Linked DNA regions of Homo sapiens: region 2 is linked to region 1. Evidence: promoter capture Hi-C in human tissues and cell types (Jung and others, 2019). All regions are on one chromosome and are shown on one strand. The core of a region is centred on a gene start or on the middle of the fragment in contact, and the rest is flanking DNA. Distances in the headings are between cores, read along the strand shown. Region 1 holds the start of GPR3 (G protein-coupled receptor 3). Region 2 holds the start of SYTL1 (synaptotagmin like 1).

Region 1 (5,970 bases), core at 1,145-3,644:
AGACATTTCTGAGTAGAACACTGACCACCTGAACATTCTGGAACCGTGGAGCCAGCTGGGCCCCCATAGGGATCTGAACAGAACCTTGAAACACCCAATGTCCTAGAACTCCAGAACCAGCTGGGTCTGGGGGGTGTGGAGCTGGGGGTTTGGAAAGAAGCCCTGGAGAGCCTAACATTCTGGAATTCTGTAGTAATCAGGGTTGAAGGGTCATGAAGACTCAGCTAGACATCACTGGGGGAGCGGGATCGGAAGGGGATCTTGGAAGAGGAACAGCAGCAGCAGACAGCCCACAGCACTTTCTGCACATCCTGGTTGCGGAAGGCGTAGATGATAGGGTTGATCATGGAGTTGTAGGTGGCAGGGAGCAAGGTAAGATAGGTGTAGAGAGGTGGAGAGTGGGCATCACCCAGCAGGCAGTAGACAGTGAAGGGCAACCAGCAGGCGGCAAAGGCTCCAAGCACCACGGCCAGTGTGGCAATGCCCTTGCGGGTGGCCACATAGTGGGAGGCAGGCAGCAGGTGCCGCTGAAGGGCAATCTGCTGGGCATGGCGGCAGACGATGCGGCAGATTTGGGCGTAGAGCTGCAGCATGATGCCAAACACCATGAAGAAGGCAATGGCCAGAACTACCAGATGGTTCTTGGAGAGTGGATAAACCACGCCACATGTGGTCAGGCCATCCAGGCAGTTCCAGGCCAGCACAGGCAGCAGCCCCAGGCCCAGGGCACCTCCCCACACTAAGGCCAGCATCACATAGGTCCGTGTCACTGTTGTCTCTGAATAGTAGGTGAGGGCATTGTACAGAGAAAGGTAGCGGTCGACAGTGATGGCCAGTAGACTGCCGATGCTGGCGGTAAAGGCCATTGCCAGCACGCCAACCAGCACCAGGCTCATCTCCGCTGAGCCGATGCAGAAGACAGCAGCAAAGTGCAGGACCAGGCCCAGGCCTGCCAGCAGGTCTGCCACGGCCAGGCTGCCCACCAGCAGGAACATGGGGGCACGGAAGGCAGGAGTGCCCACGATGATGGCCACCACTAGCGCATTCTCGCAGGACACCAGGGTGCCTGAGATGCAGAGCACCACATCCCAGGCCTTAGGCGAGGGCAGTGGTGCGGCTGGACCTGTGGGCCCCTCTGCTGGGCCCACGCTGCTTACATTCACGTTGCCTGAGCCAGCTGAGAGCCAGGCCAGAGGGCTGCCTGCACCCCACATCATGGTACCTGCAGGAGAAAGGCCTTGTGAGAAGCTGACCAAGCTGGGTGATGGGAGTTGGGGTCTGGAGGGGGTGAGGTGCTTCTCAGGATACGTGGTGGGAGTCTCTCCTCAGGATACCTGATAGGGTCCCAATGCCTTATCCCCACATTCATGCCCTGGGGCTCTTCCCAGGATACCGCTGTCCCCTCCAATGCCCCCAGGCCTCTAAACAGGGGTCTCTTCCTGGGGATCCCTGTCCTAGGTCCTGCAGGTCTCTTTTTCCCACGTGTGTGACCAGAGGAGAGACAGAAGAAGGGGTACTATAAGTGGAAGAGGGCCATAGGATCCAGGGGATGCCCCCGAAGGCTCAAGATTGGGGTAGGGAAACATCTACCCCATCAGGGAGACTGAGCAGCTCCGCTCCCTCCCATCAGAGATGATGATGCTAGCTCGTGCCTGAGGCTCCCAGACCCCTCACGATTTTCAGTACTGCCAGCCTTAGACTCCGCCCCCAGGGAATGCGCGTGAAGCTCCCGCCAGCCATCACCCCGCACTCCCGCGGTAACACCTGGGAACTCAGCCCCCCACCCCCCACCCTCCCAGACTTCTGTTCCTGGCTGGACCCTTCTTTCCGCCTGAATCTCTAGGTCTCTGGGCAGACCCCCCTGCTGGAAGACTGGATCCCTGAGTCAGATGCCTCCTTCTGCCCGGACACCTGGATTTTGGGCCTGACTCTGCCTCCTGCCTGGATACCTGGATTCCTAAATTGGACACCTCCTGCTGTTCGGACCCCTGGGTCCCTGCCCCAGACGCCTCCTGCCGGCTTAACCTCAGATGACCATCAGTCCCTCCAGGGCCTCGGGTCCCTGCAGGAATGCTTACCCTTCGCCGGGTCATCCAACTCAACCCCAGCACTCGAGCACTTGGGCCCAAGCCTGCTAACCCAGAATCGCCTAAACCCAGAATTCCCACCTCGAACTCGAACCCCGGCCGGCCACTAGGAGCCTTCCGCCGGCCCAGTGCCCCAGCATCCTGCGTGCCCTTCAGGACCCCTGGTGCCCGCGGCGGGGCCCGCTACTCACCGCTCAGGACCAGGCGCGGCCGGGCCGCGGGGAGGCTCCGCTCGGGTCCTGGCGGCGCAGGGCGTGCGTGGACCCCGAGAAGCCCCCGCGGCCGCGGGAGAAGCGGCGTGAGTCACCCCGCCCCGCCCCCGGCCACCGGTTCGGTGACGTCAGCGGTCCGATCAGCCAATGGGCGCGGCGCGCTGGGGCGCAGCGCGCGTTGCGCGGCATAGTAATAAGGCCTCGCACCGCCCGCTCCCCCATTCATAAAAAGCGACCGTGGCTGCGGCCCCGCCCCCTCCCGAGTCCGCCCGCGCTGTCCTTGACGCGGCGCCCTCTGCGGGCCGGGGGTTTCAGAGGCGCCGGTGCGAGAGCCTTGAAGTCTCAGAGAGGCTGCAGGGAACGTGGTGGAAGAGTGGAAAGGGGGCCCGGCTAGGCTGTGGGGTGATGGGACCCTTGGGTGGCAGAGAGGCTGACGAGATCCAGGTGACGAAGGAAGAGCTTGTGATGGGGCTGGTTGGGCTTCCCTGGTGAGAATGACAGGGTTTCCAAGATGATGGGGCCCTGAGGTGACGATGACAGGGAGCACGAGGGAGCGGGGAGGTGGGTGGCAGTGACGACATTAGCATGGTGACAGAATCTTGGGGTGGGGGGTGATGGCCGTGGGACGCTAACGGTAGAGGGGAAGCCCTCAGGGCAACCATGGCAGTGTCAGGGTGACTATGCAGCAGGGGGGAGTTCAGGGACCCCGGGATGGCAGAGGCAGCGGCCTGGGAACATGGAGTGTCCAGGTGACTTCAGGTCACCATTACCCTGTCAGAATGGCTGGGGTACTGAAGCGACAATGCTAAGCCATGAGGACTGTGGGGCCCTGGAACGAAGATAGCAGGTGGCTGTGGTGAGTGGGCTCCAGGGTGAGGGGCACAGGGTAGAGGGTCTGGACTGACAGTGACCAGGCAGGTAAGTTGCTGCCAGGGCAAGTCCCGTGATGCCGGGGCTGGGATAAGAGCTGGGTGACGTCACTCATGTCAGCCCAATAGCGCCCTCACAGCACCGGAGGGGTGGGCCTGGCAAGATTTCAAAACCTGAATTATTTATTCCAGTATCTAGAAAGCCAGCGTGGAGGGGGTGAGGGGTGCACTTCCCTGAAGCAGGAGGAGATGGGGAGCCGGGAAGAACTTGGAAGCAGAAAGCCTGGCAGCTCAGTCCTCAGGGCAGGCCCCTCTCAGCCTCCTATTTTAGGCATCCTGATGGGTGGAGCAAGGAGAAAGAGCTCCCTCTTCCCCAACGCCATCTGCCCTTAGTCCAGGGGAACCACTCTGGGCAGACTTCTCCAGATGTGACAGATGTGGCCAGTCCTGCGGCAGGGGGACTGGCTGCTCCTTCTCCCTGTGTCTCTTGCCTTGATGCTCCCTGGAATCATGCAGGCCTGTGGGAGGGGAAGATGAGGTTAAGAGGCCTGAGGATCCCAGGCCCCACTGGACACCCCCATCACAGCACCATCACTGCAGCCCCCATGGTCAGCCTCCACCAGGCAGGTTTTGGGTTTGAGTGTGAGGCAGCAGAAGGTCAAGTGGCAGGGAACATGGGAGGAGGAGGGGGTCGGAGCTGGAGAAGAGGATTCATTTCAGGTTGGATGTGGTGAGTTTAGGGGGCTTAGGGGGTGGAAGTGTCCAATCTCAGTTTCTCCATTTCCTAGCTGGGTGACTTTGGAGAGTTTCTTCAGCTCTCTGTGCCTATTTCCTCATCTAAAACACAGGGATAATATTAGTACCGGCCTCATGGGGTTGTTGAGTGGGTTCTACTTGCCATTGGCCATCAATGTTACAGCTGGATAATGAGGGACACCTGGGAGGTGTAGGCATGCAGGTGGCAACTGATGTTTTAGGGGTAAATAATGTCACCCAGGGGCGGGAGCAGAGAGTGAGGAGTGGCTTCAGGGGCTCCTCCTCCTGGGCTCTTGCACCTGACCCCTCTGACAACAACCCTTCTCTTCATCCAGGTCTCTGCTCCCGAATTACTTCTGAAACAGGCTGCTCTGAACTCTCAGATCGCCACTGGCCTCCCCATCACTCTCCCTCCCCTTCTCTTGATTTATTCATTTTTGGAGGATGAAGCACTCTTGAAATTATAAATGAATTCATGTTTGTTTGTTTTACTACATGTCAGCCCCACTAGAATCTAAGCTCCAAGAGGATACTGACTATGTCCCATTTCTGCTAGAGAACAGTGCCTGATATGTAATGGGTATTGAAGAAATAATCATGGACTGGATGATTGACCTAAAAGGGAACAACCAGAGGAAAAAAGGAAAACAGAGAGAATAGTAATATGCCTGGTGCCCAGGAAGGTGGGGGTGTCAGAGAGAGGATCCAAGGGCATCAGGGCCCCAAGACTCAGGGTCAGGGATCCATTTACTCCCCCATCAGAGCTGGGTCCCTACAGAGTTCTGGTCTCTGCGATGGGTGAAGGCTGCTGGGAGGTTGGCATCAAAGGGGGGTATCAGGGACTATCTTCTACTACTCTGAATGGCAATTATATATTTTTTAAGTTTTCGTAGCTTATTGATCCTCTGGTGAAAAATCTTCACCATTGCTGCAGATAAAGCCATTCCTGTTTGCCAGCACCAGCACCACACTCTTGTGACTCCCTGGCTGTCGTCATTCTGTTCTTGAGTTCCTTTAGCTGTTTTCTTGAGGTCTTTTTCTTTTATGTCTTGCAAGTCTGTGTTTGGATTAATTTTTCTTTGCATAATCCAAGGAATCATAAATCATAACCAAGCCAGTTGTCTTAACACCACCAAAATGGGTTCTGTCTTTTTTTTTCGTTTGTTTGTTTTTTGAGACAGGATCTCAGTCTGTCACCCAGGCTGGAGTGTAGTGGTGCAATCAATGCTCACTGTAGCCTCAACCTCTTGGACTCAAGCAATCCTCCCATCTCAGCCTCCACAGTAACTGGGATTACAAGCACGTGTCACCACGCCTGGCTAAGGCGTGTAATTTTTGTAGAGACAGGGTTTCGCCACATTGCCCAGGCTGGTCTTGAACTCGTAGGTTCAAGTGATCTGCCCACCTTGGCCTCCCAAAGTGCTGGGATTACAGGCATGAGCCACTGTGCCCAGCCCAAAATGGGTTCTAAATACAAAGATGAAATCCAGAGTGGTCTTCTACTTTTTGACTAGTTTTCTGTCTTAGGTATTGTTGTCTTCCCAGGGTGAAGGACACGGAAGACCATCATTTCCACTGAAGTATTGGTCATGAACTTCCTGATCCTGATAGTTATCCTGTTGTTTGCAAGGGAAGTTGATCCTAAGGCAGCCAGAGAGGAAAAGAGAGTGCAGTGACATTTCTTTTCTTTCCTTTTTTTTTTTTTTCCGAGACAGTTTTATTCTTGTTGCCCAGGCTGGAGTGCAGTGGTGCAATCTCGGCTCACTGAAACCTCTGCCTCCTGGGTTCAAGCGATTCTCCTGCCTCAGCCTCCCAAGTAGCTGGGATTACAGGTGCCCGCCACCATGCCCAGCTTTTTTTTTTTTTTTTTTTTTTGTATTTTTAGTAGAGACAGGGTTTTACCATATTGGTCAGGATGGTCTTGAACTCCTGACCTCAGGTGATCCACCCTGCTCAGCCTCCCAAAGTGCTGGGATTACAGGTATGAACCACCGCACCCGGCATGCAGTGACATTTCTAACCCCGAGAAACCCAGGAGAGCCAAGA
Region 2 (5,970 bases), core at 1-2,500, 51 kb after region 1:
ACAGTGACTCCGGAAAGAAAGCATTTGCCCAGCGCTGAGGGGCATGTAGACGTGGCAAGGGGCCCATGACTTGGTCAGGGCTGTGTCCTGAGCCCACTGGGCGGCCTCTCCTCTCTTCCCCGCCCCTTCCATTGCCACGGCTCCAGGTGGGGCTGAGACCGGCGGAGGCAGCTTGGCGGGCAGGTCCTGGCTTGTGTCCGCCGCCTGCTATGCTCTGTCCCCTCCCAGCTGAGTCAGTGGCCGAGCCCCAGCGATCCCTCTTGACACCCTCAGGAGCAGAAGGCCTCAGCACGGCTGCACGGTGTGCATTCACTCTGTGGATACCTGTGTGCTCCACAACAGCAGTTTCCCTGGACTTCTGTGGCCAACGTGTGAGCCCACGTTCGGCCTCCCCTGTGGATTGGGGTGTGAGCCCACGTTCGGCCTCCCCTGTGGATTGGGGTGTGAGCCCACGTCCCTCTCTGTGCCCTGTTGTGTGGCTGTGTGGGTCCGAGTCTGGTGGGCATGTCTGCGTTGCGTGAGTCTGTGAGCTGTGTAGTTGCTGTGTGTCTTTGTGTCCTGTTGCAGTGTGATGCTGCATGGTGACTATATTGTCTGTGTGGTGTGTTCAGTGACTTTCTAGGTGACAGCGCCGTGTGGGGTGTGTACAGTATGCATTGTGCATTTCCTCCTGTGCTGTATGTGTGACTGGGCTGTGTGCTGTGGGGTGTCCCCTGGTGCCTTGGGGGCCACCAGGTGTGTGTGTCTGAGTGTGGATGGAGGCCGGGGGGACGTTCGGCAGAACTGAGCCTATTTCTGTCCTTCAGGCCTGCCTGAGCTGGGCCATGGGCATCAGCCCAGCGTCCTCAGCAGTGCCCCCTCCCTGAAGTCCCCTCTCCTACCAACCAGAGGCAGAATCTCCTACCAGAGTTAGGTAGGAGTTTGGTCTTCTCTGCTGTTTTGACACGGTGGGACAGACCCATTGGTCAAGAGGAGGGTCTGTCCATCTGTCCAGCTGTTCCAGTTCCAGACATGTGCCCACCTCCCCCAACCCCAAGGTGCTGGAGGGTGCTCAGGATACCAGGTGGCAGTGCCTGCGTCTCTGGACCCTGGCAGGGGACCCTGGCACCGACACGTGTTACCTGTAGGGGTCCAGTATGGGAGGACACCTTCGCAGGTGGCTCCAGCTCCCCTGGCAGCCGAGTTTCAGGGACCGGGAGAAGAGCCGTGAGGGAAGAAGGCTGACTCAACAGGCAGCCCAGCCAGCAGCTGCCCCACACGGAGGAGGAGGAAACACCTCGGCAGGGCCTGATGCAAAACCGGGCCTGGACTCCCAGCGCCCGGGGGTGCGCCCCCGCAGCCGACTGGAGAGGCCCAGCTTGGCCCCAGCTCCACTGAGCAGGCCCTCTAGAACGGGTAGCAGCCCCACCTTGCCCACAACGGGGCTGATAGGAACTCGCTTTGAAAGCAAGTTAGAAACCTTTCTTTTCCAGCCCCAAGGGGAATGGCAGGATGGCAGACTTTGCAGTTAGACCACCCTGTGCAGAGTCCCTGCTCTGCCAGTGGGTGTGTGATGTGACCTTAAGCAGGTCTCTTCCATTTCTTCTGATGCAAACTGTGGGTAGCAGAGTGCAAGGAGCCTATACTAAGGGAAGTGAAAGTGCCCGGTGCGAGCTGGCATAGTCGGGGTGAGGTGTCCCCACTCCAGCATAGCCTAATGCCCACGGCCATCTCAGCAGCTGCTGCCCTCTATATCCACATGCACTTCTGGGACATGCTGGCAGAGCAGCCCTCTCTGTCCCCTCTGCTGTCCTGAGCCCCATCTGTTTGAGGAGGCCTGAACTCTTCTAGTGCCAAGGTGAGGGTCCCACACCCTCTGTCTATGTGGAGCCCCCCTGAACTCACCCCATTCTACACCTAGATTCTGCCCACCCTGAGATTAGAAGGTTTGGGCCCTAGATTACATTGGCTTCAGGACCATGAACCTCCTGGGTTGTCTTGGGCACAAGAGGCCACACCAAAGCTTTCTGACTCCCCCCAAGTCCACTTCACTTCCCATGGCCTGCCCTGGCCCAACCCCCTCCCCTGAACCTAGGGCCATGGATTAAAGATTAGTGGGCTCCTCATAGACCCCTGGGAGAGGCAGGACAAGGGGTGGATTCTAAACAAAACCAGTCTGGGCACAGTGACTCATGCCTGTAATCCCAGTACTTTAAGAGGTCGAGGTGGGCGGATCACTCTAGGACAGGAGTTTGAGACCAGTCTGGCTAATATAGTGAAACCCCGTCTCTACTCAAAATACAAAAATTAACCGGGCATGGTGGCAGGTGCTTGCAGTCCCAGTTACTCGGGAGGCCGAGGCAGGAGAATCGCTTGAACCCAGGAGGCGGAGGTTGCAGTGAGCCGAGATCGCACCACTGCACTCCAGCCTGGGCAACACAGCGAGACTCCGTCTCAGAAAAGCAAACAAGGCTGGGCGTGGTAGCTTACACCTGTAATCCCAGCACTTTGGGAGGCCGAGACGGGTGGATCACGAGGTCAGGAGATCAAGACCATCCTGGCTAACACGGTGAAAACCCATCTCTACTAAAAATACAAAAAAAATTAGCTGGGCGTGGTGGCGGCTGCCTGTAGTCCCAGCTATTTCCCGAGTAGCTGAGGCAGGAGAATGGCATGAACCTGGGAGGTGGAGCTTGCAGTGAGCCGAGATCGCACCACTGCACTCCAGCCTGGGCGACAGAGCGAGACTCCGTCACAAAAAAAAAAAGAAAAGAAAAGAAAAGAAAACTAAACACCCACTCTTCCTTCCTGTAATCAGAACCGACTCCCACCACCACTGAGAGACAGAGGACCCTCCTCCACCTCAGAACCACAGTGGAGGCTTCCCTACTTATTTTTTGCAAATTAATCTTATTTTTCTCATCTGTTAAATGGGGGTAATCTCTCCTTAGAGGGTTTTCACTAAAATTCAGTGAGATCCTTGCAGACTTTTTTTTTTCTTTTTTTTAGATGGAGTCTTGCTCTGTCGCCCAGGCTGGCTTGGCTCACTGCAGCCTCCGCCTCCTGGGTTCAAGTGATTCTCATGCCTCAGCCTCCCGAGTAGCTGGCACTACAGGCGCCCGCCACCACGCCTGGCTAATTTTTGTATTTTGAGTAGAGATGGGGTTTCACCATGTTGGACAGGCTGGGCTCGAACTCCTGGTCTCATGTGATCTGCCTGCCTCAGCCTCCCAAAGTGCTAGGACTACAGGCGTGAGCCACCTTGCCCAGACCCCAGTACTCTTGATTAATGCATTTATGCACCCACACATGCAATACCCATGGAGCAGCTGCTGTGGGACCATTACTGTGATGCTGCCTCCTTCATTAAGGCCCTCAAAATGGAAGGAGAGTGGCCAAGAACATCCACACCCCTTCCTGCCATCCTGGTCCTGGCGCCCCCAAGGATGTTTCTCTGCCCTCCTCTCACCTCCTTAGCAGCTCTTCCTCCTGGAAGGCATGAAACTTCATTATCTGGTCTTCGGGTTTCTAAATTTCCCTTCCTTTCTCTGCTCTCCTGTCCTTCCTATAGCTGTGACTCCCTGACGCTGATACTTCCAGCCATCTCTCCTGCTGTGTCTCAACCTGCATTCCTCTGGCCTCTTCCCCACTTGAAACCTATTTCCAAGTTTCCACCTCTGTAACCAGCCCCCATCATCCTGGCCCCTGGCCTCCTGCTGCTTCCTGCCACCTCCAGATGCTGTCCACACTTCACTCCAGGTGCCCTCCCATCTGTGTGTCTCTGCTGTCCTCCCCCTGCCCAGGTCTCAGTCCCCGCTCAGCCTCTTCTGGAAGCCTCCTCTTCTCCTGCCTCCTTGCGGCCACACAAGGCCACTCTGGCCCTATGTTGCACAACTTTCAAACGTACTTTTCTTTGTCATCCTCTGGTTTGGAAGGTGCCAGCAGACAGCCAGGCCATCCCTCGGGCCCATTCATACATTTCTAAACCAGTCCAGTCCCCTTTAGACACGTCCTGAGATGGAAGTCTCACCACTTCCCAGGACAGCCTGGCCCTCAGCCTGACCCTCAGGATTGCTGCCCTTACTCTGGCTTTCTCCCCTTCGTCACCTATACCCGTAGAGCCTTAGCTGTGGGCTATTTCCTGTCCTTCAACACCCCTGGGCCTTCTGTGCTCCCTGTGGGAATACTTTTCCCCAGCTCCAGGACTAGCTCAGCCTCCTCCAGAGTTCAGTGCCCCTGCGCTGCAGCCAGTCTCTAGGCAACATCCCTCTGTTAAGAGGGACATTAAGAGGCAGGGTCCTAGAGGCCAGCAGATCTGGGTTAAAATCTGGCTCTGCCGCATGGTTCCCTGTGGCCTGGGATCAATGACAATCCCTGTAAGCCTCACTCTCTTCCTTTATGAAGTGGGGACAATAGCCATCTCACAGGCCTGCTGCTGTCAGGAGAGCTTGTTTTTCACCTCCGCGGCCATTCTCCTTTCGCATCACAGCACCTCTCATTTCCACTCCTGTGCTCCAGTGAGGCCATCGCACAGGGTGGCTCTGAGTGGGGGCTCTGGAGCCCAGCTGCTGGGTTTGAACCATAGTTCCACTCTTCCTACCTCTGTGACCCGGAGCAAATCACTACTTCTCTGCTTACTTCTTCATCTGTAAAATGGGATGATGGCACTTACCTTGTTGCAGGGCTGTTGTGAGGCTAAGATGGTATTTTATTACAAGGCCTAGCACAGAGTAAGCACTCGCTAACTGTTGGTGACTTTTTTTTTTTTTTTTTAAGAGACGGGGCCTTAGGCCGGGCATGGTGACTCACACCTGCAATCCCAGCACTTTGGGAGGCCGAGGCAGGCGGATCATGAGGTCAGGAGTTTGAGACCAGCCTGGCCAACATGACGAAACCTTGTCTCTACTGAAAATACAAAAATTAGCCGGGCATGGTGGCAGGCGCCTGTAATCCCAGCTACTCGGGAGGCTGAGGCAGGAGAATCGCTTGAATCCGGGAGGCGGAGGTTGCAGTGAGCTGAGATCATGCCATTGCATTCCAGCCTGGGTGACAAGAGCAAGACTCCATCTCAAAAAAAAAAAAAAAAACAAAACAAAAAAAAAGAGAGAGAGAGAGGGAGAGACGGGGTCTTGCTCTGTCACCCTTGACCTCCTGAGCTCAAGCTATCCTCCCATTTCAGTCTCTTGAGTAGTAGCTGGGGCTGCAGGTACGCACCATCATGCCCAGCTAATTTTATTTTTTAATTTTTTGTAGAGATGGGGTCTCACTTTGTTGCCGAGGCTGGTCTCAAACTCTTGGGCTCCCTCCCTCCTCCAGCCTTGGCCTCCCAAAGTGCTGGACACTGTGGCTGACCCTGTTGGTGACTTCTATGGCACAATTTTATGTCCTGTTTCCCCCAGGCAAATTTTAAATTCTGCTAGGCTAACGCAGGCCTTAAGCCTTTTTTCTATCTATTCTACTGTGGCTGTCTTTGGTTTATTTTTTAATTTTTATTTTTGAGACGGAGGCTTGCTCTGTCACCCAGGCTGGAGTGCAGTGGCGCGATCTCGGCTCACTGCAAGCTCCGCCTCCCGGGTTCATGCCACTCTCCTGCCTCAGCCTCCCAAGTAGCTGGGACTACAGGTGCACGCCACCATGCCCGGCTAAGTGCTTGTATTTTTATTAGAGACGGGGTTTCACCGTGTTAGCCAGGATGGTCTCGCTCTCCTGACCTCGTGATCCGCCTGCCTCAGCCTCCCAAAGTGCTGGGATTACAGGCGTGAGCCACCGCAACCGGCCTGTCTTCAGTATTGAATTTGTCCCCCCTCAACCAACTCTCGGATGGACCCAATATGCAAAACAGGTTTTTGAAAATGGAATTGCTGGGGCCAGGCGTAATGGCTTATGCCTGTAATCCCAGCACTTTGGGAGGCTGAGGCGGGTGGGTCACCTGAGGAGTTCGAGATCAGCCTGGCCAACATGGTAAAACCCCGTCTCTCCTAAAAATACAAA

Evidence for each region. The method cuts DNA at HindIII sites, captures the fragments that hold promoters and counts their contacts. A contact is called where the count stands out against the background at its distance.
Region 2: a contact is called between the fragment with the promoter of SYTL1 here and the fragment with the promoter of GPR3 in region 1, in 6 of the 25 tissues and cell types used here (IMR-90 fibroblasts, adrenal gland, aorta and 3 more).

The regions. Positions count from the first base shown.
Region 1 is chr1:27,389,046-27,395,015 of GRCh38, reverse strand. It overlaps GPR3 (G protein-coupled receptor 3), which reads right to left and starts at 2,394. Exons shown (of 2, transcript NM_005281.4): 1 at 2,279-2,394; 2 at 1-1,222. The coding sequence starts at 1,217. The coding sequence ends at 225. RefSeq lists enhancers at 6-803, 1,632-2,167, 2,705-3,241, 3,242-3,778 and a silencer at 2,191-2,690. The HindIII fragment of the contact is 10,052 bases long and covers 1-5,970 here.
Region 2 is chr1:27,337,302-27,343,271 of GRCh38, reverse strand. It overlaps SYTL1 (synaptotagmin like 1), which reads right to left and starts at 1,250. Exons shown (of 15, transcript NM_001193308.2): 1 at 1,122-1,250. RefSeq lists enhancers at 1-615, 790-839, 1,370-1,629. The HindIII fragment of the contact is 14,194 bases long and covers 1-4,327 here.